Regions from separate parts of the Homo sapiens genome. Here regions 2, 3, 4, 5 and 6 are each linked to region 1. The links are contacts of gene promoters, found by promoter capture Hi-C in human tissues and cell types (Jung and others, 2019). All regions are on one chromosome and are shown on one strand. Each heading gives the region's core, a stretch centred on a gene start or on the middle of the fragment in contact. The rest is flanking DNA. Distances are from core to core; before and after follow the strand shown.

Region 1 (4,676 bases), core at 827-3,326:
GCCACTGTGCCTGGCCTGATCTTTTTATTTTAGAACCAATATTTATGGACTCAATCATTTAGAGACGGCGGGCGTGGTGGCTCACGCCTGTAATCCTAACACTTTGGGGGCCAAAGTGGATGGAATGCTTGAGCCCAGGCATCTGAGGTCAGACTCGGCAACATAGCCAGCCCTCCATCTCTACAAAAAAATAAAAATAAAAATTAGCTGGGCTGGTGGCCTGTGGCTGTAGTCTCAGCTACTCAGGAGGCTGAGATGGGAGGATCACCTGAGCCCATGAGGGGAAGGCTACAGTGAGTTATGATTGTGCCACTGCACTCCAGCCTGGGCGACAGAGCGAGACCCTTCACACACACACACAAAATTAGGTTAAAAAAAAAAAATGTTTTGGATCGCCCTGTGAGCAAAAGGAACAAGAACATTTACAGAGAGTGATTTTTGAGAATTGAGACTACCTTAATTCAGAATGTTTTCTGGTCCTGAATTTACCAGCTGAACTTCTCCGTTTTGGACAAGCCCCTTCATTTCTCCATGCCTTAGTTTTCTCACTTATACAACCTATTTCAGAGGACTGTTGTGAAGATGGAATGACTTAAGGTAGGCGAAAGTTTTTTAAAAAGTAATAAATGAGGGGCCAGTGTAAGATAGTGTTATTTTCTTGTTAATTAATACTATGCTTTTCTTGTTCATATTATAATCTTTTGTATGAGGATGAAAGGCTAAATTATCCAATAACGGCCATGGGAGGATCTCAAGATGGGATGAGCTTTTAGGTTCTGAGATTTGAAGCAAAGATTGGTAAGGAGACAACACCATAGGATGGAAGAGCTTGTGTTTTAGTCTCAGAAAGACATGAATTTGAATGTTGACTGTGGCACTTGTTGGACCAAATTATTCAACTTCCCTGAGGCTGGGATTCCTTTTCTATAAAACAGGGATGAAAATCTCGTGTTTTGCAGGATAATTGTGAAAATTAGAGATAATGTATGTAAAATTCTTGGCAGGTAGCACACACCCTATATGTGGGAAGCACTGTTAAAACACTCAGGGACTTGGGTTGAAATGTCCCGACATTTGTCTTTTGCTCTGTAAAAAATAATCTCAACCGGGCGCGGTGGCTCAAGCCTGTAATCCCGCCACTTTGGGAGGACCAGACGGGCAGATTGCTTCATTCTAGGAGTTCAAGACCAAGGATCGCGGATTGCTTGAGTCTAGGAGTTCGAGACTAGCCTGGGCAACATGGCGAAACCCCATCACTACGAATAATAGAAACAAATTAGCACGGCGTGGTGGCGCGACTCTATAGTTCCAAGTACTCGGCAGGATGAGGTGGGAGGATTGCTTGAGCCCAGGAGGTGGAGGCTGCAGTGAGCCGAGATCGTGCCACTGCACTCCAGTCTGGGCAAAAGAGAGAGAACTTGTCTCAAACAAACAAAAAAATGGCCCGGCGCGGCGGTTCACGCCTGTAATCCTAGCACTTTGGGAGGCCGAGGCGGGAGGATCACTTGAGGTCAGGAGGTCGAGACCAGCCTGGCCAACATGGTGAAACCCTGTCTCTACTAAAAACAAAAAAGTTAGCCGGGCGTGGTGGCGGGCGCCTGTAATCCCAGCTACTCGGGAGGCTGAGGCAGGAGAATCGCTTGAACCCAGGAGGTGGAGGTTGCAGTGAGCCGAGATCGCGCCACTAACACTCCAGGATGGGCTACAGAGCGAGACTCCGTCTCAAAGGAAAACAAAAAACAAACAAAAAAAAGTCATCCTGGTAGTTAAAAGATTTGTTAAAAAGGATGTTGAAATTATTTTGTCACGGAGCCTGGGAGTGTTTGTTTAATCAGTTACCGATAAAGTTTTGGTTAAAAAAAAAAAACTCGGTTTGTTCCGTTTCAATAAAGCTTTGCTCAAACGGGGAGCTCCGGGAGCTCATCGCGAGACTCAGGTGAAACGCGTTTCTAGTTTGGGACCTGATCTCGCGTTGTTTGATAAGCAGGGGAATGAGGTGAAAGCGAAGCACGAAACATCGCGAGAGGCTACTGGACTCTCGCGACGATTTCTGGGATTGCCCCTCCCCCCTTCCCCAAGTGCCGTTTCGGTTTAATCTAGTGTGTGACTGGGTCTGTGTGAGGGAGAGAGTGTGTGTGGTGTGGAGGTGAAACGGAGGCAAGAAAGGGGGCTACCTCAGGAGCGAGGGACAAAGGGGGCGTGAGGCACCTAGGCCGCGGCACCCCGGCGACAGGAAGCCGTCCTGAACCGGGCTACCGGGTAGGGGAAGGGCCCGCGTAGTCCTCGCAGGGCCCCAGAGCTGGAGTCGGCTCCACAGCCCCGGGCCGTCGGCTTCTCACTTCCTGGACCTCCCCGGCGCCCGGGCCTGAGGACTGGCTCGGCGGAGGGAGAAGAGGAAACAGACTTGAGCAGCTCCCCGTTGTCTCGCAACTCCACTGCCGAGGAACTCTCATTTCTTCCCTCGCTCCTTCACCCCCCACCTCATGTAGAAGGGTGCTGAGGCGTCGGGAGGGAGGAGGAGCCTGGGCTACCGTCCCTGCCCTCCCCACCCCCTTCCCGGGGCGCTTTGGTGGGCGTGGAGTTGGGGTTGGGGGGGTGGGTGGGGGTTGCTTTTTGGAGTGCTGGGGAACTTTTTTCCCTTCTTCAGGTCAGGGGAAAGGGAATGCCCAATTCAGAGAGACATGGGGGCAAGAAGGACGGGAGTGGAGGAGCTTCTGGAACTTTGCAGCCGTCATCGGGAGGCGGCAGCTCTAACAGCAGAGAGCGTCACCGCTTGGTATCGAAGCACAAGCGGCATAAGTCCAAACACTCCAAAGACATGGGGTTGGTGACCCCCGAAGCAGCATCCCTGGGCACAGTTATCAAACCTTTGGTGGAGTATGATGATATCAGCTCTGATTCCGACACCTTCTCCGATGACATGGCCTTCAAACTAGACCGAAGGGAGAACGACGAACGTCGTGGATCAGATCGGAGCGACCGCCTGCACAAACATCGTCACCACCAGCACAGGCGTTCCCGGGACTTACTAAAAGCTAAACAGACCGAAAAAGAAAAAAGCCAAGAAGTCTCCAGCAAGTCGGGATCGATGAAGGACCGGATATCGGGAAGTTCAAAGCGTTCGAATGAGGAGACTGATGACTATGGGAAGGCGCAGGTAGCCAAAAGCAGCAGCAAGGAATCCAGGTCATCCAAGCTCCACAAGGAGAAGACCAGGAAAGAACGGGAGCTGAAGTCTGGGCACAAAGACCGGAGTAAAAGTCATCGAAAAAGGGAAACACCCAAAAGTTACAAAACAGTGGACAGCCCAAAACGGAGATCCAGGAGCCCCCACAGGAAGTGGTCTGACAGCTCCAAACAAGATGATAGCCCCTCGGGAGCTTCTTATGGCCAAGATTATGACCTTAGTCCCTCACGATCTCATACCTCGAGCAATTATGACTCCTACAAGAAAAGTCCTGGAAGTACCTCGAGAAGGCAGTCGGTCAGTCCCCCTTACAAGGAGCCTTCGGCCTACCAGTCCAGCACCCGGTCACCGAGCCCCTACAGTAGGCGACAGAGATCTGTCAGTCCCTATAGCAGGAGACGGTCGTCCAGCTACGAAAGAAGTGGCTCTTACAGCGGGCGATCGCCCAGTCCCTATGGTCGAAGGCGGTCCAGCAGCCCTTTCCTGAGCAAGCGGTCTCTGAGTCGGAGTCCACTCCCCAGGTGAGCTATTTGTCTAACAGTCCTTCCTCATTTAGGGTGGGTTGCGAGGAATTGGCATTCAGCGTGTTAACATTGTCTGGAAGCCCGCAGTGTTCATCATTGACTAGAACACTTTGCTGTTGGCTAGTCATTCCAGTGTGTGAATCTGTCTCCCCTTAACCCAGAATTCGAGAAGTGAAGAGTACATAGGCCTCAAACCGCCAAAGGTAGGTACTTCCAGTGGTGGGGTCTTCAGTTGTAAGCTTCTGAGTGAGAAACGTCAAAGGCTTCTGCTTAGTGAGTGGATGGAGTTGATACTAGTTCCCAGAGCATGTCTAGCTATTTCTGTTGCTTAGTTTTATATTTTTAAAAATCACATTGGTATTTGTGCTTTAGACTCTATGGGACCTGGTTGAAGACTTAAGAAATTGGTATGGAAGTTACTTGCCTAGTTTATCCTATTTGTGTTGTCCACTGAATCCCCAAACCTGTACATTTATTCATTTCCTACTTGGCACTGTTTTAATTATTTACAAAAGATTCCTGTCTTTTAACTGATGTTTTAGTGGAAATTCAGCTGATTAGTCTGTTACCCTTTTAATGGTATAACCTAGCAGAAATTGGTTCCAAGGACAATTTGGTTTTCTTTACAGCATCATCACTGACCTACCTTGTGACCGCTGACAATTTTCAAAATCTTTCTCTAAAACACATAGTAATAATGCCTTCTTTATATTTTTGCGAGAAAGGCATGCTAGTTTGAAATTTTGTTGTTAGAGTGAATTATTTGGAAAACTGTGTTCTTGTTCCTAGGTAATGAGATGTATCTCCTTTGTGGCCTCACTTCTGTTCACAAAAACAGAATGTGGGCTTTAGTTAGACCTTTGTGGAATCCTAATGTTGCTTTGTGACCTTTAGCAAATGAGTTAATTTCTCCTTGCCTGAGTTGCTTCAGGTGTAAAATGGGAATAATAAATACCTACTTTTAA
Region 2 (4,676 bases), core at 550-3,049, 720 kb after region 1:
GTGTGTGCCACCATGCCCGGCTAATTTTTTTTGTATTTTTAGAAGTGGGGTTTCACCATGTTGGTCAGGCTGGTCTTGAACTCATGACCTCAAGTGATCTGCCCGCCTTGGCTTCCCAAAGTGTTGAGATTACAGGCGTGAGCCACCAAGCCCAGCCAGCATCAGTATTTCTGAGAAGCTTCCCTGTGATTCCAGTGTGTAGTCAGGGTGAAAACCACTGCCACTCCAGGAGGACCATGACTTGATGCTGGCTCTCCTCACTGATTCAAAATGTTGAACTTAGTCTCTGCCTGACATCCTTGAGCATTTGGGGGAGTACTGGGGTCCTGTGTCCCAAGCTTCTAGCTTCCAGAAGTCTCTCAGTCTGTTTTATTTTCAACCCCCTACACCCTTCACACTCCCCAATTCGCCCTTCCTAACCAACAATTCCCAAATCCTGCCCAGAGAGAAGGTTACCAAGGCAACCGGCTTAATCTGGTAACTGTGGCATGTGCTGGGAGAGAAGCCCTTCCCTCTTCCTATTCAGTTCATAAAATGCTACCTGGGGAGCTCCAACCCATTCCAGCCACTTTCCCCTTTCAAGCCAGGGGATATTGGAGTGTCCAATAAGGGGAGCACAGGAAGCTGATACTCAGACCTCTAATACAGCTTCTTAGCCAAAATTGTGCGCTGTCTTCTTTTTACTGTTTCCAAATCCACAAACAGATGGGTGTGCAAAGCTTTATTTCTGTGAACACATGCTCTAGCACACATGGGAACAGATATGCACATACATTGATACGTATGTCATACACACCCTGTTCAGTTTTACTACCACTCCCAGCCATTAGCATTCCTGTCTCTGCCTGGTTGGTGCTCGGTAAACAGGGGTGGGGCATTGTCCAGAGAGCCTCAACCCATCGAGAACCTGCTGCCACTCCCACACCTTGTAAGTCTAACCTGGATGTTCTCACACTTAGCATGGCTTTACGATGCACCCCCCTCCTCCCCCACACTCCTTCTGGGGCAGCATATCCTTAAGGACAGAATGCTCCTGGTGTGGGCATCAGGAGTAAGGATTACTTGGAGTGCTAATTGGCACCACTTTTCCCACTCCATGGCCATGTACACTTGGGCTCTGTGCTTGATGATAGTCGGCAGTTCTGGGGCTTGTCACCTGTCTCCATGGCCCTGCTTCCTTCTGCTGCCAGCTGGGCTCAGGTGCCCTTGTGCTCCTGGTCTCCTCCCCACTGCCTATTATCCCCTCCTCACCCCAGCTAGACCTGCCACAACCTGCTGCTCCCTGCCTGGCTCCTACCTGCCTGCCAGTACCTGCCCACAGACCAGGCCCACACCACCTATTGTGCCCTACCAGAGAGGACAGATGGGCACCGCCTCCAGTGGCAATGCTAATTCACCCAAGAGGCCTTCCCAGCTCTTCTCACAGAAGGAAGATAAACTCCACATATTTCTGTGAGTATGAGAAAGGTGCACACTCTTGGGTTCAGCAATCTGTAGGCCTGACTTGGGTACACAGGTAGGTGAGTGAAGGTGTCCAGGCCACAGACCTGTCCTGACTCTTTGAAATGATGCTGAGACCCGGTTATCCCTTGAGCCAGGAATCCTTCCCCATTGGTAAATCTCTGACTTACCTTTGCCCTTAATTTCTTCTGCTTAGAACCCAAGTCCCTTACTGTTTCCCTCGCGGTCAACCCCAGCGCGCGAGTTCAAGCCTCGTGCGGCGCGGGGGCGAGCCGAGGAAGGGTAGGGGCGGGGACTGGGCGGGGACTGGAGGAGGGGGCGCGGTCTCGGTTCTGCCACCTTCCCCCTCTTCACGGCCAGGAGCGCAGCCGCCGCCGCCGCCGCCGCCGCGTCCTCTCAGCCTTGCGCTCCGCCCGCTGCCTCTGCCGCCGCAGCGCAGAGCCGGGCGCACCGGCCCCGCAGCCTGCCCACTCTTCGGGCCGCGTGCCGGCTGCAGCCGGCATGGGGGGTTGCTGAGAGCGAGCACTCCTTTCCTCTGGCACCTCCCCCGGCTACTGGCCACTGGACTCTGGCCAGCGAGGCTCGGCCCCTCTGGCCCCCAGTCTGGCGCCTGGCACGGCCCTCTACTCTGCTCCTCCAGCTCTGAGCATCGTGTCTTCGCCGCCCCCCCCGCCCGCGCCTGGGATACCTGGGTCCCCCGGCGACCCCTAGGAGAGGGGCGGGGGGGGGCATGAAGCCGCTGGAGAAATTTCTGAAGAAGCAGACGTCGCAGCTGGCGGGCCGAACGGTGGCGGGAGGTCCCGGCGGGGGTCTGGGGAGCTGCGGTGGGCCTGGAGGGGGTGGGGGACCCGGCGGGGGCGGCGGTCCAGCCGGGGGACAGCGGTCGTTGCAGCGGCGTCAGAGCGTGTCTCGCCTGCTGCTCCCCGCTTTCCTCCGGGAGCCCCCCGCCGAGCCGGGGCTGGAGCCGCCCCCTGAGGAGGAAGGAGGAGAGCCGGCGGGGGTCGCGGAGGAGCCGGGCAGCGGGGGGCCCTGCTGGCTGCAGCTGGAGGAGGTGCCGGGGCCCGGGCCTCTCGGGGGAGGGGGGCCCCTGCGCTCCCCTTCCTCCTACTCATCTGACGAGCTGTCCCCAGGCGAGCCCTTGACTTCGCCGCCCTGGGCCCCTCTGGGCGCCCCCGAGCGGCCCGAGCATCTTCTGAACCGGGTTCTGGAGCGGCTTGCTGGAGGGGCTACCAGGGACAGCGCCGCCTCAGGTAAGGAGCCGGTGGGCTCGAACACCCAGAGCAGGGGCTGGCCCCGGCTCCTCTTCCTTGCCCTTGGAGCGTAGGGGTGGCGCCGTGCCGGGGCTTGGTTATAGGGTTGAGTGGTCCGCGGAAGCCGGCTAGGGGCCTAGCGGAGGTACAGACCCTCCCGCGGAAGAGGAGAGCAGTACTCACCTTCCTCCCTACAGCAGCCTCACCCTCGTCTGGAGAAGCAGCTGAGCCTCTTACTCTCCTTCAGCCACCCTTCCTTTCCCCTGGGCATTGGAGCCACTGACTCCCATGGGTCCCTGATGTTGAATACCTCCTCCTGTGGCCCCAAATTAGGGCCTGACACATTAAAATGGGAGCTGCCCAGCGCAGCCATGCCACCCGCCAGAGGTGCTTTAGCCCTGAAAACCCTGGGGTCCCTGACTGTTCAGAGGCCTACACAGCGCAGGCTGACCCACCCAGGGAGGCAGTGCCAGACAGGCACAGGCCCCAAGCTGCCTTTTAGGCATCAGCAAAGGGATGCGTTGTCCTTAGCAGTTTGGTGGGGGGGATAGTATTCTCCTTGGGCTGGACTCAGAAGGTGTCTGGGAGGGGAGAGGTGGCTGGGCCGGCATCATGGCCCTGCAGCATCCAGGGTGTCCAAGCGCCTCCAGCTTCCACCCTTCGGTGGCAGGCCTCAGCACCCGGCTTTTTTTTTTTTTTCTTTTGGAGATGTAGTCTCACTGTCACCCAGGCTGGAGTGCAGTGGCGCCATCTCAGCTCACTGCAACCTCCACCGCCCAGGTTCAAGCGATTCTCCTGCCTCAGCCTCCTGAGTAGCTGGGACTACAGGCATGTGGCACCACGCCTGGCTAATTTTTGTATTTTTAGTAGAGACAGGGGTTTCACCGTGTTAGCCAGGATGGTCTCGAACTCCTGACCTCGTGATCCACCTGCCTTGGCCTCCCAAAGTGCTGGGATTACAGGCGTGAGCCACTGGCCTGGCTAATTTTTGTAGTTTTAGTAGAGACGGGGTTTCGGGGTTTCACCAACTTGGTCAGGCTGGTCTTGAACTCCTGACCTCGTTATCTACCTCCCCCCACCCCCACCCCACGGCCTCCCAAAGTGCTGGGATTACAGGCGTGAGCCACCGGACCTGGCACACGGCCTCTTTAAAATATAATCACCACACCCTGAGAAGCTTATTCCCTAAATGATGATACTATTTCACCACTCCCTTTCAGCACCCCTACTAAGGGGCCTTTGAGGAAACCAAGGCCCCAAATCTGGTTAGTTCTGAGGTAGAAGACCGAGGGTTCTTTAGGTCTAGCTCTAGGCATTACTCTAAGCCCAGGAGGGTCTGAGGTTTGGGAGCCCCGGCTGAGGCCCTAATGGTGAGGGCTTTCACACTTGCTCTCAGCCCTCGGCAGGGAACCCCAACCTAGATGTGTGGAGGGGGGCTCCACTCTCCTAGATCCTTCTCAAGACCTGGGTCCTCTCCTTTGGAGCAGGCTGTAGTTGCCCTGGGGAGCTGACACCTTTTGGATTTAATTAGAAAAATATCAGACACACACAGCTCTCCTAACCATAACTTCCCGCCTACACCACACACCCTGTGTCTCTATGACACATTCCCTAGGGAGGCTGTACATTGGCCCAGAGCCTGCTTTGGAAAAGACAGATGCCCAACTGTGGCCCCCATATCAGCATCTCCCCAACTCTGCCCCATCTTACTCTTCCTTTGCTCCAGCTTAGGAATCCTGTGAGATAAAGTCTATGAAGGATGTCAGGCCTCTCGTTTCCTCACCCTCATCCCTGAAGCTGGGGGTCAGAGCTGGAGGCTCTCTGACTCATTGTAAGAACACAGCAGGGTAGCTGGGCAGGGAGGAAAAGGGAGAAGCTGTCTTTCCCCTTTTACAGGGGCCTGGTGCCACACGCTCCGCTCATTCTCCCCTGGGGTAAGACTCCTGAAATGTCACCCATGTTATC
Region 3 (4,676 bases), core at 812-3,311, 660 kb after region 1:
GCCTGGGCAACAGAGCAAGACTCCACCTCAAAAAAAAGAAATACCTATTAGACATCCAACTGGGTATGTATACTAGACAGTTGGATATATGATTCTGGAGTTAGGGGATGAGTCCAGAAAGAAATATAAATTACGGAGCTGTCAGCGTAGAGATGGTGCAGAAAGTCTTGACGCTGAAGGCTGGGCACAGTGGCTCACTCCTATAATCCCAGCACTTTGGGACGCCCAGGTGGGAGGATCGCTTGAGCGAGTTCAATACCAGCCTGGGCAACAAAGGCTGGTATTACAAAGGCCCGTCTCTACAAAAAAATAAAAAGTTAGCCAGGTGTGGCAGCCCAAGCCTGTTGTCCCAGCTACTTAGGAGACTGAGGTGGGAGGATCACTTGAGCCCTGGAGGTTGAGGCTGCAGTGAACCATAATTGTGCCACTGTACTCTAGCCTTGGGGACACAGCAAGACCCCAGTGCCACAAACACACAAGCCTTGACATGGAAAGAGATCACCACATTCTATGTGCCCTCTCATCCCTGCTCACTCCATTACTTGGTGTCCCTAAGCTCAATACTTCCCTTGCTGATCTGAGGCCATACAGTCTGGTGAAAGAGGGCCGGACTCTTGGCTTCTTAACACATTCACATACGTTTGTTTAAAATTTCCAGTGTTTCATGCTTTCAGCCCACAAAGCACAGACACAGTTTTAATGAGAGGTTTTCACATCAGGCCAGAGAATGTCAGTCTTCTCCATCTCCATAGAGATTTTAAAAAGCACACCTCAGACAAAAAAGAAAAACAAGCAATTAAGACTATTTCAGGGCTGGGCACGGTGGCTCACACCTGTAATCCCACCACTTTGGGAGGCCGAGGCGGGCGGATCACCTGAAGTCGGGAGTTCCAGACCAGCCTGACCAAGGAGAAATCCTGTCTCTACTAAAAATACAAAATTAGCTGGGCGTGGTGGCGCGTGACTGTAATCCCAGCTACTCGGGAGGCTGAGGCAGGAGAATCGCTTGAACCCCGGAGGCGGAGGTTGCAGTGAGCTGAATTTCACCATTGCACTCCAGCCTGGGCGACAGAGTGAGAATCCGTCTCAAAAAAAAAAAACGTTTTTTTCACAAGGAATTCTGAGGACTTGTTGGCTCAATTGCTTGGACATAAAGACACACATACATGAAGCTGGAGAGATAGGAAGAAGCGCTCAACACAGAACACCCTAAGTATCCCTACTCCCTTTCAAGGACTAAATCCCTTCAGAGATTTCCTTTGCTTCAGTCCTTCAGGAGCCTCCCGAAGATGCTAGGAGTCGTTTAAGAAGGCTGGAAGATGGCCGTTGGGAAGGAACTGTTGGTAGCTGGCAATACTTCATCCCAAGGAGGCGGTGGCAATAGCTCCCTGGGCAGCAGACATCATGGATTTTCCTCCCTCTGGGAACCAGAGGTCCCTCCGTTTCTGGTTTGAATCCCTTAGAGACAAAGAACTTCATTCTCTCCCATACCCGCGTGGGACTGCTGGGGAGGAGAGGGGGTGGAGGGGTTAGACTTCTACCCCCATGAAACACCCGCGGGCTCAAAGAGGAGCCTGGATCCTGACTGGTCCAGGAGGCGTGCGGGGCCGCGGGGCCCCTCCGGCTTGGGCCAGGCGCGTTGCCAAGATGCCCGGGGAAGGGGCCGCCCGGCGCAGGCCGGGGACGTGGAGCGCTCGGGGCGCTCCCACGTAGGCCACACATTGGCCGCCTGTATCCTCCTTCTTTCCTCTCAACTCCATTCTCTCGCGCTTTTTTCCCGGGGAGCCTCCGCTTTCCCCTTCTTCCCGCGGCCGCCCTCGCCCTTCTTCCCCCTCCAGACCCTCCCCCGGCTCGCCCCTCCCTCGGCAGCCCACCTTCACCCCGCTCCTCCGCGCGCTCCTCGGTCCTCGCCCCTCAGCCCCGGCCTCCCCTCGCCGGCCCCCGGCCCCCGCGGTCCCCTCCCTGCCCCCCTCGAGGCGGCGGCGGCCCCTTTCACAATAGCGCGGCCCGCCTCCCTCCTCTCGGCTCCCGGTGCACTCCCGCCCGCTCCCCTCCCCGCGCATGCGTCCTCCGGTTGGCGGCGGCTGCGGCGGTGGCGGCTACGAGCGGCTCCGTTTTTTTAAAGGGAAACGCTGAGGCGCCGGGGGTGACTGTGGGGGAGGGGGACCCCGAGCCGCGGAGACCCCCGGGAGAGGCGACAGACCCCCTCTCCCGGAGTAGGAGGGCTTTGGGCGGACCCAGCCCTCCACCCCCTCCTGAGGAGGAGGGGGGGGAAATGGAGGCTCGGGGCGGTTGAGGCGAGCTCCGGGGCGGGGGGCCGGGGCGGGGAAGGGGGGGTGCGGGGTGGGGAGACGAGGCGGGCCCGGCCGGGCCAGGGGGGGCCGAAGCGAGCTCCGGGGATGAGCTCGGGGGCGGCTGGGTGCGAGCTCCTGCCTCTGAGGCGAAGGCGGCGGCGGCGGCAGCAGAGGCGGCGGCGAGGCCCCCATGGGCCGGCGGCGGGCCTCAGCCGCGGCCTCCACGTCTCCGCACGCCGGCGGGATGGCGCCCGGGCCCCGGAGGAGCCGCGCTAGCGGAGGCCTGCTGCCGCGCTGCTGAGGCGAGCCCGCCAAACTCCCCTCCCCCCCCTCAGTCCTCGACCCCCCGCACCTCGCCCCTTCCCCACCCCCTCCTCCGCCTCGGTGCCCGGCGCTGCTCCGGACCACTATGACCATGAGATCCGCGGTGTTCAAGGCGGCCGCGGCCCCTGCCGGCGGCAATCCTGAGCAGCGACTGGACTACGAGCGGGCTGCGGCGCTGGGCGGGCCCGAGGACGAGCCTGGGGCGGCCGAAGCCCACTTCCTCCCCCGGCACCGTAAGCTCAAGGAGCCGGGGCCCCCGCTGGCCTCCTCCCAGGGCGGGAGCCCCGCGCCTTCCCCGGCCGGCTGCGGCGGCAAGGGCCGGGGCTTGTTACTCCCGGCCGGGGCGGCCCCCGGGCAGCAGGAAGAGAGCTGGGGCGGTTCGGTGCCCTTGCCCTGTCCGCCCCCGGCCACCAAGCAAGCCGGCATTGGGGGGGAGCCTGCCGCAGCCGGAGCCGGCTGCAGCCCCCGGCCCAAGTATCAGGCGGTGCTGCCCATTCAGACGGGCTCTCTCGTGGCGGCGGCCAAAGAGCCTACGCCCTGGGCTGGGGACAAGGGTGGGGCGGCCTCCCCCGCTGCCACCGCCTCGGACCCGGCGGGACCCCCACCACTACCTCTGCCCGGGCCGCCACCCCTCGCGCCCACCGCCACCGCCGGGACCCTGGCGGCCAGCGAGGGCAGATGGAAGAGTATGAGGAAGAGCCCTCTCGGGGGTGGTGGCGGCTCGGGAGCCTCCAGTCAGGCCGCCTGCCTCAAACAGATCCTTCTGCTGCAATTGGACCTCATCGAACAGCAGCAGCAGCAGCTGCAGGCCAAGGAAAAGGAGATCGAGGAGCTGAAGTCAGAGAGAGACACGGTACGGGAGGGGTTAATCTGCATTCGGGCCGAGGAGCGAGTTGTGCGCATGCTCGGGGGAAGGGGGCTGTAGGAGGTTAAGGCACCCCCGGGTTAGGGGTAAAGGAGGTTGGCCACCGGCAAAGGAGTATCTTAGGCGCTGGGTCTCTGGGAGCCAGGCTCACAGACACGTTGGGTTGGAGGGAAGGGTTAAAGGGCAACCTCTCAGGGGGAGGGGGAGGGGTTTCAGGTGCCAAAGGGTTAATTTAAAATGACAGCCCCAGACGTGTGGGAAAGACGTTTAGTGGAAAAAGACGTGATCTGTGAGGGGTTAAAAATGAAAGGGTGGGGTGTAGGTGTTGTGTCCTTATGGAAGGGTTAAATTAAAGAGCTATTGCGTTAGAAATGCACGGTGGAGGAGAGGGCTGTAGCAAGCAGCTGTTGCTTTCACCACTGCTGCAGCATCTTTAGATAGGAGGGCAGTAGGCCTTTTAGTGGGCACAGGGGTAGAGGTGATTTACGTGGAATCCTATTTTAGTTTTCTTAAATGATATTAAGAGAATCACTGCCTTTGATTTCAGACAGCTTTTAATAGGAACCTGAGTTCTAATACATGACCCACTGACCAGGTCCCTTTTATAAGCATGGTGTTTGAAACTGGAAGATTTTAGGGCATCAGGGGAAAGTAAGCTTATTAAATGTATTAAATAGACCTCCCCATCCTTATTTTAGAATCTTAGGGAGTAGGAAAGTCGTTTATTATTTCTTTACTTCTGAGGAGCTTGGACGACACAGGCTTGTTTTTACTGCAGCAGTAGTTAAGGGCATCTCTGCGTTAAAACATATTCCTTCAGATATGAGGGAAGCTGGGGTGGGGGGTATTACTGTGCTAGCATACCTTACAGCTGCCTAAAAATAAACATGGTTTCTACAATTGTTGTGTTCAGGCTGCAGCAGTCTCTCTCTCCCTCTCTCCCTCCCTCTTCCTCCCTCCCTGTCTCTTTCCCTTTCTCTCTCTCTCTCTCTCCCTCCCTCCCCGCCGTCCTCATCTCTCCCTCTCTCCTCTTTCTCTCTGGCGTCGTGTGCGCTAAGAGCTGAGCAAGGGAGCAAGCGGCTATTCATTTTGTTTGCTTTCCAAATGAATCTCATCGGGTGGCTGTTTTATTGGAGAATGCATTCTGCAAGGTGGATTGGGAGCTGGGGCAGGTCTCATTAAAATATCTCATG
Region 4 (4,676 bases), core at 1,444-3,943, 640 kb after region 1:
AGTAAGACAGTCACATTCCCCCCAGTTGGGGACATATATTCTCTGAAGGAAATGAAGGGAAGGAATCTGCCCAGCCTGGTTCCCCTGGCCTCTTAAGAGAGTGAGCCACAGTGGAGTCTATCCCTGTGTCCAAAAAGGACTTCGAGGTGCGAGTTGCAGGAGGTGGAAGTACAAACTGTCCAGCCTGGGGCTCTAAAATTCCCCCTTCAGATCTCAGCCTGGTAACAATGACCTTGGCTCTCTGGCCATTCAGGGACTTTGACCCTCTGGTTACATTGCCAATGAGGTGGCTGTGCTCCCGTGGTATTAGCAGGAGAAAAAGGTGACCTGCCTGCCACACCTCCGGCAAGCACCTAGATTGGTCTGCCATGGGCGGGGTGGGAGAAGGGAGGATCCCAGGACACATGTGACCTAACACATGCCATGCCACTGTGTCTGCAGAGGCACATGTCTTGCTCACCCACTGACACACACTGAACTGGGCAGGGCGGCCCTAAAATAGCTCAAGGTTGGTCAGGGTGAACCCAGCTCCTTGGAAAATAGTTGCACAACAGATCAGCTCCCCCGGTTTCAGGGCTGAGGTGGGGGATGGAATCATTAGTTGGCAGTAAATGAAGTTGACCTAGTTCACCCATCCCCCAAAAAGGAGTGAGACCTTCATGCAGAGGCTTCCAACGTGGAAGTGAGGAGCATACTCAAGAGTCTAGGTCTAGGTCTAGACCCATCACTACCAACTTATTTTGTGACCTAGAGGACATCAACTCCCCTCTTTGGGTCTCAGTTTTCCTTTCTGTGAGAAAAAAAGGACAGTATCATTTCAGCTATGATTGTGGGGTGCAGTTGCTTTGGGGAGCCCTTAGTAGGCAAACTGCAGCTTGTCTGGTGGAGATGGGGGTAAGACAATGCTCGCAGAACTAAGGAGAGAGAAGCTTGGGGAACAGGAATTTGTAATGTGGGGAAGCTGAGTCTAAATGCAGTACGGTGAAGTAGGTGCAAATAAGAGTGAAGTGGAAAGGAGTGAGAAGGGTGGTTAGGGGTGAGGTCTCTTTAGGGAGTGTAAAACAGAAGGCCATGAAAGGTCAGGAATGGCTCCATGTTACTTTGTTTTGGTGATGGGGGAGGGGGCCGGGCAGGCGGACCGGAAAAGGAGGCAGGCGGGGGCGGTGAGTCAGCCCAGCTTCACCCAGATCTCGGCGGGGCGGGGCAGGGCGGGAGCTGGGCCCTCAGCCGGCCTCACGTCCCTGCTCCACGTGTGCCTCTCGCACGTGGCTCCCCAACGAGGAACCCCGGAACTCGAGGCCCCGCCCTCCTCGCTTCCCGTCAATCGAGAGCAGTCGCCCCGCCTCCTACCCGCCCTTCCCCGGCCACCAGGTCGTGGGCTGGACCCCGAACGATAGCAGGGCCAGGACAACCTAGGGGAGGAGAGAAGGGAACACGCGTTGCCGGGGCGACCGGGGGGGCGGAGCTCATTATGTAACGAGGCCGGGAGGCAACGACCAATGGGGTGGCAGCCACGGCTTCTGCTGAATGAAAACAAACGCAGCACGTGGGCCCGGCTCTAGAGCCATGTGAGCCCTCCCGGCGGCCGGAGCCCTGTAGGTGCCCTCCCTCGGGCCGGGCACCACGCTCTGGACTCCTCAAGTGTCGCTCCCTCCTGTCACTGAGGATTCCCCAGTGAGATCCGAACGATTCTCCCAGCCCCTCCTTCCCTGAACCCCATCGCGCCACTCTTCTCAGATTCCCTCGCGCCTGCAGGAACTAGAGGAGGGGGAAGACAAGAGGGGAGGGGGTCCGTTTTCTGAGGCCAGGCATACTACAGCTGCAGGTAGTGGACAGATGGGGCCGTTTCGGGGCACTGTTCCAAAGCTCCCAGTCCCCCTAAATTCTTCGCTTCACCACCCGTACCTCCTCTCCATTTCCTCCTGCCCAGGGATTCGAGGCTCAAGGGAGCTTTGGGACTCTGAGGGGTGGTGATGGGGCGTTTCTGAGAGCATTTCCAGCCCGAACAAGCCGCTCTGGAAATCCCACACTAAAGCACCGCAGCACGTTAGCAAATCTCCGGGCCGAGGGACACCCCAGTCCCTTACAAAGTTCCTCTTTTTATAAGGCGTAGATGGAGGTGGGGAGACAGTGACAGGGAAAAGATGATAGTAAAGAAATCTCAGTACCTGTGTTGTTGTTGGAGTCCAGGGTCGTCATGTCTTCACCAGCTGAGAGCGGTCATTCAAACTGGACCTTGACTCAAACTAGAGGTTGCGATCGCCGCTGTTGCCCCCTGGGCACTGGCTAAGGGCGGGGAGTGGACCCCGCGACTCACGATCAGGATCCGAAGCACCCTGCAGCAAGGTCTTGGGGTGGCCGGACTGCAGCCCTGCAGAAGGGTTGGACGTTGAGGCAACGGAGTTCTGCTTTGCATGGGAAGAGCAGAGAGAGTGTGTAGGGGGAATCAGCCTGCAGTAGTTCTGGCTAGAAGGTAGCAAGGAGGGTCGGGTCTCTGCAGTGTACGGGGTGCCTCTGCCTGCCGGCTCCGCAGCGCTGCGGGGTGGCGAATCTGGAGCTCCCGGTGCAAAAGTCCCAGAGGAAGAGAGGTTGCAACCAGGAAGTAAGTAGGTGATGGGGAGAAACGGGGCACCGAGTCGCAAAGAGGCGAGACGTGTGCCCTGCTACGTTCCCTCGGCAGTAATATTTCACTCTGCCAATCTCAGCCGCCTTTTGCCCGAGCCTTTCCCTGGGACAGAGGGCTCTGCGCAGGCGCCAGCAGCCCAGGGTTCCCGGGCCGCACGCGGCACTGGAGCAGGTACCATGTGATCCCAGGGAGCGCCTCGTGCCCCAGTGACACACTTTTCCAACAGCCGGCACGTTGAGCTCTTGCGCGCCTGCGCAACGACAAGACTGTCGGGATTTGTAGTCCACCGACAAAGTGGGCGGACTGCGTGCCTTTCCCCTTTCTGCCTGGCAAAGCGCTTGCCGGGACCTGGGAGGAGCTGAGAGTGGGGTGGGGTGGGGTGCGCTGAAGAGTCAGGGTGGCGTGTTTAGAAAGCCTGTATGGCAGGGGCATGTGAATTTCTGGGGAGGGACTGGCAAGCTTGTTTGCTGTCTGGGAGATCAAAGCTAAGAGGCCCTTTCTGCAAACCTTGCAAACGTGAGGGCTTCACGTGATTGCAGGACTGACCTCGTCCTGAGGTTACTGGTGACCGGGAGAGAGAGAAGCCGGGGAGGGAGATTTCCCTGGAGTCAGGAGCTTAGGCTGCCCTCTGCTTCAGGGCAAAGTCCAGAGAAGGAAAGGAAATGTGACCCCCTTTCCCTTCTACTCGCCTTAGGGAGAACACCTCCAGGGGAAGGAGTTCCCACAGAGGTAGGGATGTCTGTAGGGACTCCCTGTTTGCTTGTATGACACCATTCCACCCACTCCAGTTGACTTTGGGGTGAGTCATTTCCCTTTGTCTGGGAAATAAAAAGGACAACAGAGGGGAACTAATAGTGAAAGTGCTTTGAGGTCCTAAAGTAATGGGGAAGAGGTGAGGCAGGGGGTGGGGGCAGAGTGACACCCCTGCCCCTCGGTGCTGGAGGATAAAATATGAATTCCACAGAAGATTACTACTCAGAGGGGAACATGTAGATCATCTTAAGCCTCCCTCTTTTTACTAGTGGGGAACAGGAAGCTTAGGAGAAGTGACCGACCCAAGGTCAGACGTCCATTGCTAGTTTCATCTGCCCACCCCGAATGGGAAGGTGGGTAGATGTACAAGTGAAATACTGAACAGGGGTTAGAAACAGCCAGCATTGCCGGGTGCTTTGGCTCATGCCTGTAATCCCAGCACTTTGTGAGGCTGAGGTGGGTTGATCACCTGAGGTCAGGAGTTTGAGACCAGCCTGACCAACACGGTGAAACCACGTCTCTACTAAAAATACAAAAATTAGCCGGATGTGGTGGTGGGTGCCTGTAATCCCAGCTAGTCAGGAGGCTGAGGCAGGAGAATCGCTAGAACCCGGGAGGTGGAGGTTGCAGTGAGCCGAGATCGCCATTGCACTCCGGCCTGGGGGATAGAGTGAGACTCTGTCTCCAAAACAAACAAACAAAAAACAGCCAGTATTTCGCTTCAGAGCAGCAACTGTCCCATGAGTAATAACAGATCTCAAGTAGAGGAGATCTATCATGTTAGAGGGCTTGGGTCATGGAGGGGATGGAAGCTTCTTAGGCAGCGAAGGGAGAGGGAGCCTGAGCCACCTGCTGCTCCCGCTAATTCCTCCCCAGTCCCAGTGCTTCTAGAGAGGGTTTTCTTCACATAGGAAGCCCTTCTCCACAGGCAGCTCCTGGGATGGTATTGATGGATGCCTGGGAAACATGAAAGCCACCGAAAAGGTAGAGAAAAAGAATATGGGAGTCCGGGGGTGGTGGCTGACACCTGTAATCCCAGCATTTTGGGAGGCTGAAGTGGGCAGATCACCTGAGGTCAGGAGTTCGAGACCAGCCTGGCCAACATGGTGAAACCCCATCTCTACTAAAAATACAAAAATTAGCTGGGCGTGGTGGCGCACGCCTGTAGTCCCAGCCACTCGGGAGGCTGAGGCAGGAGAATTGCTTGAACCCAGGAGATGGAGATTGCAGTGAGCCGAGATCATGCCACTGCACAACAGCCTGGGCAACAGGGTGAGAGTCCATCTCAAAGAAAAAA
Region 5 (4,676 bases), core at 567-3,066, 590 kb before region 1:
GTAAAACTGGTTCCTCCTGGGTTTTGCACGGAACCGCAGCTCTGCTGATCTGTGATCTCTCTGTTCAGCCTAGAGATACAGCTCACAGTAATAGGAGCCAGGAGAAAAAAATGCGCGTTTCCCCGGGGTCCGAGGAATGACACAACCACATTCCGGGTTTAAAATATCGCAGCTGCCCTTTGACCCAGGCAGCACGCCTCTTCCTTTCTCCTTTATTTTTCCTTTTTTTGGGCAAAACCTAGTCGAGGGGGACGCCCTTGTCTCCCGTCACACTTACCATTTTCCTCCGGCCCAACAGTGACCCTGTCAGGCACGCAGCCAGCAGATACTTGTCCCCATCTTTAGGTTATGAAACTCCATGGCCTTTTATTCTTACTTCAGTGGTTCTTAAAATGTGGTCCCCACACCAGCAGCACCAGAGGCACCTGGAAACTTGGTAGAAATGCAAATTCTCGGGGCCCCCTTACAGAATCAGAAACTAGCAGTGTTTTAACAAGCCCTGCAGGTAATTCTGATGCACGTTCAAATTTGAGAAACACTGTGTTCGTTTATCTCAGTTTGCACTGGGTTATAACTTTACTTTTGTACATTAATAGTCAAGGATGAACACAGCACGTCCATGTCACCATTAATACAGAAAGTTGAAGTTGGAGAAGGGCTGTGTCTATGGGTTTCCCTCGCCTGACCCACCCTCCACCCCCAAAAGGAACGCCAAGTTGAGGCGTTCCCCTGTCTCCCTACCCCCATTGGAAACATCCTGTCCCTCAAACCCGGCACCTCGAACTGTCTGACCCATCTGAGGCTGGCGCCCGTGGCCGCAGAAATCCCTACACCTCTGGCGCGAGTAATGCGGTCGCGCAGCTTTTATACCCACCCCCTCCTCCCGCTGAGCACAAAGTAAAACCGAAAGATTTCTGCTAAGGTTGAAAAATGAGGAAGATACTTTTTCTTTTCTTTTTTTTTTTTTTTTTAGTCAGGACCCAATGTTAAAATGTGAGTCAAGAATGAAAAACAGATGGTTAACAAGGGGAAGGAAAAACCAAGCCATTGAGGGGGCACCCGGATTTGAACCAGGGACCTCTTGATCTGCAGTCAAATGCTCTACCACTGAGCTATACCCCCGCGCCTCTACAGCGCCTGGAGGCGGCTCCTTGGGTGCTAAGCATTGTTGCAGCTGCTACACTGTGAGTAGTGGTGTAACAGAAGGAGAAAGGAATGCTGGAGAAAAAGGGGTCAAGCTGAACGCAGACGGTGCCCGCATCCGGGGAACCCCGGGAAGGTGCACTGCAGGGGCTCGAGAGGGAAGCACTAGCCCGGGCCCGGCAGCGCGCAGGGTCCAAGAGGGAGGGACGGGTTCCGCCCCACAAATGTGGGAAAGGGTGTGGGCCGGAAGAGAGCTAAGAGGGGCAGGGTAGGGGGTCCCCGTTCGGTCCGCAGATTCATGCCGGGTAGAAAGTCCCCGAATGCGGTGAATCAGTTCCAGCGTTCAGGAGGATCCAACCCCACCCTCGACGGGCTTGAGGGGTTAGCCCGCCTCCCGCAGCCCGGGCGCCCCAGATGTGCAGCCTGCTCGCCTCTGCGCCGCCTCCGGCTGGGGAAGGGCCCTGGGCACCGGGCGCAGTCAGCCTGAGAGCGCTGAGGCGCCAGCACCGCGGGCCCCGCCGTCCCCCCAGGAACCCGCCCCCGCGCAGCCCCACGTCGCCCGGAGAGCGCGCCTCGCTGCGCGTGCCCTTGCCCGCGCCCGAGGCGCGTGCCCGCCCCAGTGCAGCCCCTCCTCCCCGCTGTGTTTATTAGGGGAAGGAGGGCGGAGGCGGAGGCCAGTTCCCCAGCTCCAGCCGCCGTCGCTGCTGCCTGTGTAGTTGCAGCCGCGGCCGCCTCCCGCCAGCTCGCCTCGGGGAACAGGACGCGCGTGAGCTCAGGCGTCCCCGCCCCAGCTTTTCTCGGAACCATGAACCCCAACTGCGCCCGGTGCGGCAAGATCGTGTATCCCACGGAGAAGGTGAACTGTCTGGATAAGGTGAGCCCGGGACCGGGAGACGCGTCTTTGCAATCCCCCGCAGTGCTCCGAATCCAGGGAGGAGAGAAGGGCCGGGTCTTTGCCGCCTTATCCCCGCGATCCCAGGAGAATGGAGGGAGGGCGAGCGGGCGGTGTCATGGGGTGTGGGGACACATCCCAGTCTGAAAACCAGGAGATCTGGGGCGAGGCGGGAAGTCCACGCGTAGCGGGCAGCCGCTGCTGGAGAGGGGTGGGCTCTGTGTCCCGGGGTTGGGAGGACGGGAGAGGAGCAGGGAAGTCAGGCGCCGGGGTGTGTTGGGGGAAGGTTAGGGGTGCAGTCCCGCCCCCTACGGCCTGGAGAGTGAGAAGAGACGGCCGCTCCCTCTCCGCTCTGCGCCGAGCGCCAAGTAGGCGGAAGCGCGGGGCGCTGGTGGAGGGGGCGGGGGGGCGGGGCAGAGGCTGGGGGGCCCTGCAAAACCGTCCGCTCCGGCGGGGGTGGCCTGGCTTCCTGGCCTGGCGGGGCGGGGGCTATCAGCCTGCGAGTGTGTGGCATCTGATGCGGGGGGTTTTGGGTAAGGACCCGGGCTCTGCCGCAAGAGCCCCGTTTTTGAACGACCTGCACCCCCTTGGATTCAGTCGTTAAAGGACTCGCAGACCTCCTCCACAGCTTCCCAACCCCCACCTCCAATTAAAAGCCAACTCCCGGTGCTGGGCCGTCCAGCCTGAGCCGGGTGGGGTTGGGTGGCAGAGTAGGGTGGGTGGAGGGTGCTTAGCTGAGATCTCCTGAAATTGTGCTCAGAGCCAGGAGACCGTGTGGAAGAACAAAGAGCTAACTTTTCAAAGCAGGTTTCTCCAATGGAGGGTGGGGTTGGCTGAGTTCTGGGGAAGCCGAGGAAAGGGGGAGGTATTGGGGGGAGGGGAGGGTGGCCTTGTGGAGATTCAGTGTCCCCTGGGGGCCCTGTCTCCCCAATGCTGGACTTGTTCATCTGGTTGCCATTAGACTTTTGGAGGGGGGTTGGAGAGTAGAACTGGGTGTTTCCCGTACAGTTTAGGGTAGGATCCTGTTCTCTTGTAAGCTCCGTAAGATCCTAAGGTAAAACCTGCCCCTCTGCATCCCCTCCCCAGTCTGGAGGGGAGGCCTCTGTGATTTTGTGCCCTTCCTCACCGCGTCTTTCATCCACCACCCAAAGCTGGCTCCAAGTCCAAGTATTCTGTCCTTTCCATCTGAACTGGGAGGGCTGGGAGGACTGGATGGAAGAGAGGTGCAAGGGTGGGAACACTAGATGAAAGAGGGGTATAGAGCCCTGGGGCCAAGTTCATTACTGACCTGGAGCCAGGTTTTGTTCAGGAGAGGATAGTTTATTGGACACCTTATCTCTCCCCTCCCCCTTGGTGTGTGAGCTTCCTCAGTGACCTTTGGCCTCTGAGTCAGCGTGAGGAGGTGGGGTTGGAGGTTCTGAAAGATATTTGAACTTGCTCTTGGGGAGTGTGGGCATATGGGGCCGCTGCTGTGTCACTGTTCCTCCTGGTCCTGGGCTTGACTGGGCAGGAGGAGAGGAGGGGGTATATTGTGGGCACGAGGAAAGTTGTTGATCTCCCCATGACCATGCCAGCCGCTGTTGGGCAGGACTTGAGCTTAGAGCTATCAGATAATGAAGTCTCCCCTTGAGAATGTACCTGTCCTTGCACACTGGGGTTTCGCCCGCCCCTCGTGGCAGAGATTTTGGCCTCTGCATCTTGAGTTCCCTGTGGTCCCCTTCTTCTCCACAGTCATGAATTGGGAAGAGGCAGTGGGCACTTGACCCGTATAAGGAAAAAGCAAAACATGAAGGCAGGATTGCCACTCCAGGAGTTGGGAAACTGGGTCCTTGTTCCAGGTCTGCTCCCACCAGTTTTATGAATGTCTCTAGGCCTCAGTATTCACCATCTGTCAGATGGGTATGATGATGTCATTTCCTTAAAGGTGGGGCAGTGCACTAAAGTCCCTGAGTGCTAAAGAGGGTGCTGTATAGACTATGCCCTCCCTACCTCTCTGGGATGCTCTGTTCAGCTCCACACCACTCCCCTTGGAAAGACCTTCAGTGCCGTGTACCCGAGGGGAGGGGAGCAGGGATGGGCAGGGTGCCCTCCCCAGTTCTCTTACCCTAGCTGGAAGAGGACGTTCAAGTGGGGGTTGCCCAGGGAAGTGGGAGTTGGTGATTCCTTCCTCTTTTTAGAACTCTCCCTATAGGAAGTGGCCCTGGAGAGACCTCGCCCCCTGTACTGAGCAGGAGACCTGAAATATCCAGGTATCAGACCTATTCCTCTCCACCTGCTCCAGGCAGTAAGGATAGGACCAGGAATGGGGAGCCAGTGCCTGGAGGATGCTGGGCTGTGACCAGGGAGGAGGGGAAACCTTCAGTCCCATAGGCAGCTTCAGTCCCATAGTTGCTAACCAACTTCCCAAGGCCTCCCATTTACAGCAAAAGAGTCAAATTAGACTCACCCGTTTCTCTACAATCCCCCATGGTACTCAGCCCACTACGTGGCCCAAAGCACAGGGTGTGTCCTTGGTTTCAGCCTTTTCTCCTCCCTGAGCCTTATCTCCCAAAGGCATAGGTGGGTAAAAACCTTGTCACCTCTGAAGGCCACCCTGCCCCCAACCTGCAGTACCCAGCATGCTTTGCAAGCTGGATAAATA
Region 6 (4,676 bases), core at 749-3,248, 520 kb after region 1:
CATAGTGAAGCCCTGTCTCTACTAAAAATTAAAAAAAAAAAAATTAAAAATTAGCTGGACATGGTGGCTCGCACCTGTAGTCCCAGCTACTCAGGAGAAGGAGGCAGGAGAATCGCTTGAACCCCAGAGGGGGAGGTTGCAGTGAGCCAAGATCACGACACTGTACTCCCTAGCCTGGCCAACAGAACGAGATTCCGTTTAAAAAAAAAAAAAAGTTTTATGAGTGGAAGAATTTCTCTAAGGATTTTGGTCCGTGGAGTCAGACTCTCCCCCAGTGTCTTAGTCACCCCCTGCCCAGCCTGGTTCCCTCATCCACCAAGAATTCATGACCAACTGCCAGAAGCTTTGTGTTATGCCGCCAGCCTCCCTGATCCTGAGCACCTTCCAAAGCCTCACTCTATTGCTCATGGATATACTGGGTTGTTATCTGCTGACTTGGTTGTTTTCTCCTTGTGATGTAAACTTAATAGAGAGATGAGCTAACACCCTAACTATCTAGAAGAGTAACTCCTTTGATTGTTAAGGATGAACATAACTCATCTGTTTTCTTCCTTACCATTCTCGCCCACCTTCAGTTGCAGATATGGTGTTATGAAGAGGTTCTAATGAGTTTATTCCAATGATGATTCAAAAGTCCTGTTATCCACCCCCCAGCCCTGGAGGGTGAGAGGACAGTTGAGGAGGAACTGGTCAAGGCATGTTCCCTAAAACTAGAGCACATATCTTTCCAGTTAGCGAGTGGCTGTTTAACGCAAGGAACATCCTGCAATCCTATGAAAGAGGATGCAAAAGATATGCAGGATACCCTTTATATATGCAAAGGAGGAGGTCAAAACATATTTCCTGCCTTCTAGGTCCTTACAACAGGGCTAGATTGTCTTGTAGGGTCCGTGAAAGGTCTAAAACTCAGGACTTCCACTTATGGGAGAGAGAAAAGTTTCAAGGTAGGGAGAGAGTTTTTGTTGTGTGTTCTAAGAAATTGGGAGCTATATCCTTCACCTTGTTTCACCTTCCCTGCAGAACCAGTGGGGCAGTCCTTTGAAAAATAAGTGGGTAGGGTTTCTTGTCCAATTTGCTTCCCCTTAGGTACACCACTAAGTAAACCATCATTCTCTCCTTAGGCACACCATTATTCTGTTCCCCATTTCACAATGTCTGTCTGGATGTATAAAAGCCCTCTCAATGGGCTCCCTAAAGCGTCTGCCAGTAGGGGCTCCCACCCTCTTTCCTCAACACTCCCAATCCACCGCAGCCCAGAGCACAGTGTCTGCTTATCTAACCATCTGACTCCCCCGTATACTACATTCTTGAGCTGTTTTTCACCCCCCTATTTGCTAACCGTGGGCCGTACATAGGGTGGACCCCTATATTTTGTTAAACTGGAGTGATTCTACGCAAATGCACGCTCCTACCTATCGGCACTCCCAGCCTGCAGAAATTGTATGCCTTATGTTCAGCACTAAACTCAAATCTAACCAAGGAAGTCCGGATCCCATAGGGTTCTTCCTACTCTCCAGTTCGGTTTATTTTAAGGCCAACAGCCCTAGCTTCACGTCCCTCCTTCACAGCCTTCTTTCCTTCCCTCCTGCCGGATGCGCCCGGCAGCCGTTGAGCACAAGCCCAGCGGATCTGGAAGGAGACCCCGCCGCGACCGGGGAAAATTGAGCGAACTTGGGCGCAAAACCCGCCCGGCAACTCGTGACGTCATCTCGTCCCGCGCTCGGATAGGCTGTACCCACTCCACGCTGGTTGAGGCGCTCTTAAAGTCCTTTGTAACCCAGATTGGAGCCTGAGGGGACCTCTCGTGGACGCCCACAGAAATGCACTCGAGAGGAACATAAAAGCATCACACTTAAGCGCTCGAAAGAAAGCCCCACGAACCCATAAAGGCTCCTCCCCGCTCCTTCCTCGAAGCTCCTCCTTCATCCTGCACCTCGGCTGTGGATTTATTTCCCCTTTGTTGACTCGGCCATCGGCCTGCCGGGCCTGGCGTTTCCCAGAAGGCCCAGCGCCGGGAAGGGGTTTGCAGCTGCTCCGTCATCGTGCGGCCCGACGCTATCTCGCGCTCGTGTGCAGGCCCGGCTCGGCTCCTGGTCCCCGGTGCGAGGGTTAACGCGAGGCCCCGGCCTCGGTCCCCGGACTAGGCCGTGACCCCGGGTGCCATGAAGCAGGAGGGCTCGGCGCGGCGCCGCGGCGCGGACAAGGCGAAACCGCCGCCCGGCGGAGGAGAACAAGAACCCCCACCGCCGCCGGCCCCCCAGGATGTGGAGATGAAAGAGGAGGCAGCGACGGGTGGCGGGTCGACGGGGGAGGCAGACGGCAAGACGGCGGCGGCAGCGGCTGAGCACTCCCAGCGAGAGCTGGACACAGTCACCTTGGAGGGTACGGCAGCCCAGGCCGGGAACGTGCCGCGATCGCGGGTGACAGCGACCCCTGTGATTTGGCTTCTTGCTGGGAAGCCACAGCAGCCTCCACCACCCTCAGTTCTTTGGGATCACCCCCAGATACCTGCTCCCACTGCCCCGACACTCCCGACTCCAGGCCCAATGACTGAACCTTCTCTCCAGGCTGGGAACCACTCCCCTCCCATCCCCTCCATCCCCATATCTGGGGTTGCATCTATATCTAGGTCCCAGTGGGCCTGGGGACTCCCTCTTTTAAGTCCTCCCCTCTGACCTATTCCGTTTATATCCCACCCGACTGATTTTAGCGCCTCCAATATATGACTGATTGTTCCCGCTGGAAACCAGTGTTTGTGTCTGTGTGTAAACAGGGCCAGGATGACCTAGAATATTGACTCCTGAGTTTTAAAACTGTACAGCAGATTTTTGTTGTCCTAGCTGCCTTTAGCACACTCCCCCGAATGAACCATTTCGACCTAGTATCTTGTTTCCTACTTCTCTAACTGAAGTGTCCCAACAGTCCCCTTGCTGTCTCCTCCCTTCAGGTCCTTACTGCCCCTCTGTTTCTAAAGGGTTTAAGTACATACACACTTAAAACTTTTCGGGTGTCATCTTTGTTTGGTTTTGTAATACTCAACCTTTGGCCTAAACTCCTATATACCGGTGTCTCCTATTTCTTTTCTCCGAGGTTCCTGTTTCGAGTGTCTGTAGTCCTCTTGTTCCTCCAAGTTCATGTTTTACTTTTCCCACTTACAGCGTCCTGTTTCCATTTGAAGTGGGCAAAGTGAGAGCTTCCCACTGTGATCCTGGTGCCATTTTCCTGGTTCTGGATCAAGTGGGACCAGACTACTTACTAGGTTTTCTTTTCACTAAAATGCGTGAGAAACTAGCTCAAAAACATTGAGATAAGCAAAGTTATCCTCCTAGGTGGTGCTTTTGAGGATGTGATGGTGTTGACTACATCAGCTCTTACTGTAAAGTTGAGCAACAGGATCGATATTTAATAGAGATCCTTTTACCTAAAGTAGTGGCAGCAATGTCAAAGGTGCCACTCAGCATTGCCTACTGGGTGTGTTTATTACAGGCACTTCATTTTCTTCTTGTAAAGTAATTCATATTCATTGCAGAAATTGTGGAATGTATGAGAAGTTAAAAGCAGGGGATAAAAAACATGGTTAACATTTTTTCTTGTGAATTTTTGAGCTGTTCTCCTATAATTGAGAGCAAGTTATGTATACAGTTTGTATCAAGGCATAACTAAATATAAATTTTGAATTTTATGTGTTTTCATTAACATTCGTAAACATAATCAGCATTCAATTTATTCCAGAAACATTTATTGAATACCCAATATAATGGTTAAGAGTACAAGTTCTGGAATTAGTTCCCTCATCTGTATAAATACAAGTAATAGTACAGTACTTTATTGGGTTGTTGTGAACATTAAAATGCTTAAAACTGTGCCTAGCACATAAATATCAGCTGTTATTATTTATATCATTAGTGTGGCCCAGATACCCTGTGCTAATCGGTGAATATACAGAAGTGCCTAAGAAACTACTCATTGATTGCATTCCCTTATTGCTTTGCATTTAAACTGTTTCTAGTTTCTTGCTATCATAAATAGCTTTGAAGCAATCATCTTTGTGCCCAACTTAAAAAATCTACTTTTCTAATTATTTCTTCAGTACAGATTCCCACCAAAACCTATATGCCTGAGTTTAAAAGGCTGAACATTTTAAAGGTTTTTGATAGTTATTGTCCAGAAAAACTGTGCTGATTTACATTATACCAGGAGAAATGTAGTTTTCACTGTACTCTATAATTTTTTTTTTTTTTTGAGACGGAGTCTCGCTCTGTTGCCCAGGCTGGAGTGCAATGGCGCGATCTCGGCTCACTGCAACCTCTGCCTCCCAAGTTCAAGCGATTCTCCTGCCTCAGCTTCCCGAGTAGCTGGGATTACGGTCACCCACCACCACGCCCGGCTAATTTTTTTATTTTTAGTAGAGACTGGGTTTCACCATGTTGGCCAGGCTGGTCTCCAACTGCTACCCTTAATGATCCGCCCTCCTCAGCCTCCCAAAGTACTGGGATTACAGGCGTGAGCCACTGTGCCCCACCTATAATTTTTTTAATGTTACAAATTTGGTAGTTTAAAAATGTTTCCATTTGCAATTACTCAAATACTAATGGAATATAATTTTTGTCTGTTAGCTATTTTTCCTCTTTGTATGTTAGTTCGTCTCCATTTTTGTTTTGAAATTGTGGCAATAT

What was found. Contacts are between HindIII fragments. The study calls those that stand out against the background at their distance.
Region 2: a contact is called between the fragment with the promoter of RAPGEFL1 here and the fragment with the promoter of CDK12 in region 1, in 1 of the 25 tissues and cell types used here (hippocampus).
Region 3: a contact is called between the fragment with the promoter of MSL1 here and the fragment with the promoter of CDK12 in region 1, in 1 of the 25 tissues and cell types used here (liver).
Region 4: a contact is called between the fragment with the promoter of NR1D1 here and the fragment with the promoter of CDK12 in region 1, in 1 of the 25 tissues and cell types used here (lymphoblastoid cells).
Region 5: a contact is called between the fragment with the promoter of LASP1 here and the fragment with the promoter of CDK12 in region 1, in 1 of the 25 tissues and cell types used here (hippocampus).
Region 6: a contact is called between the fragment with the promoter of PSMD3 here and the fragment with the promoter of CDK12 in region 1, in 1 of the 25 tissues and cell types used here (heart right ventricle).

Annotation. Positions count from the first base shown.
Region 1 is chr17:39,459,410-39,464,085 of GRCh38, forward strand. It overlaps CDK12 (cyclin dependent kinase 12), which reads left to right and starts at 2,077. Exons shown (of 14, transcript NM_016507.4): 1 at 2,077-3,708. The coding sequence starts at 2,663. RefSeq lists enhancers at 1,854-2,778, 2,139-2,188, 2,279-2,338, 2,504-3,703, 2,729-2,858. The HindIII fragment of the contact is 12,986 bases long and covers 1-4,676 here.
Region 2 is chr17:40,175,671-40,180,346 of GRCh38, forward strand. RAPGEFL1 (Rap guanine nucleotide exchange factor like 1) reads left to right here and starts at 1,800. Exons shown (of 15, transcript NM_016339.6): 1 at 1,800-2,711. The coding sequence starts at 2,192. RefSeq lists enhancers at 679-1,179, 1,180-1,680, 2,072-2,928, 2,929-3,783 and a silencer at 1,712-1,841. The HindIII fragment of the contact is 8,651 bases long and covers 529-4,676 here.
Region 3 is chr17:40,119,910-40,124,585 of GRCh38, forward strand. MSL1 (MSL complex subunit 1) reads left to right here and starts at 2,062. Exons shown (of 9, transcript NM_001365919.1): 1 at 2,062-3,471. The coding sequence starts at 2,704. It overlaps LOC124904001 (a long non-coding RNA gene), which reads right to left and starts at 1,931. Exons shown (of 2, transcript XR_007065752.1): 1 at 1,875-1,931; 2 at 620-1,504. RefSeq lists silencers at 1,513-1,672, 1,903-2,102, 2,143-2,352, 2,413-2,552, 2,653-2,702 and 1 more and an enhancer at 2,903-3,541. The HindIII fragment of the contact is 12,972 bases long and covers 1-4,606 here.
Region 4 is chr17:40,097,896-40,102,571 of GRCh38, forward strand. NR1D1 (nuclear receptor subfamily 1 group D member 1) reads right to left here and starts at 2,694. Exons shown (of 8, transcript NM_021724.5): 1 at 2,169-2,694. The coding sequence starts at 2,199. RefSeq lists silencers at 341-635, 1,159-1,508, 1,519-1,608 and enhancers at 838-2,037, 956-1,940, 1,941-2,924, 2,390-2,459, 2,940-3,059. The HindIII fragment of the contact is 7,590 bases long and covers 1-3,373 here.
Region 5 is chr17:38,868,242-38,872,917 of GRCh38, forward strand. LASP1 (LIM and SH3 protein 1) reads left to right here and starts at 1,817. Exons shown (of 7, transcript NM_006148.4): 1 at 1,817-2,017. The coding sequence starts at 1,949. It overlaps TRC-GCA4-1 (tRNA-Cys (anticodon GCA) 4-1), which reads right to left and starts at 1,122; the gene lies at 1,051-1,122. RefSeq lists enhancers at 1-70, 71-671, 247-426, 1,917-2,066, 3,079-3,680 and silencers at 27-126, 1,547-1,856, 2,377-2,476. The HindIII fragment of the contact is 16,045 bases long and covers 1-4,676 here.
Region 6 is chr17:39,978,809-39,983,484 of GRCh38, forward strand. It overlaps PSMD3 (proteasome 26S subunit, non-ATPase 3), which reads left to right and starts at 1,999. Exons shown (of 12, transcript NM_002809.4): 1 at 1,999-2,382. The coding sequence starts at 2,163. RefSeq lists enhancers at 1-1,008, 1,430-1,609, 1,830-2,109, 1,910-2,887 and a silencer at 2,290-2,339. The HindIII fragment of the contact is 7,545 bases long and covers 1-4,676 here.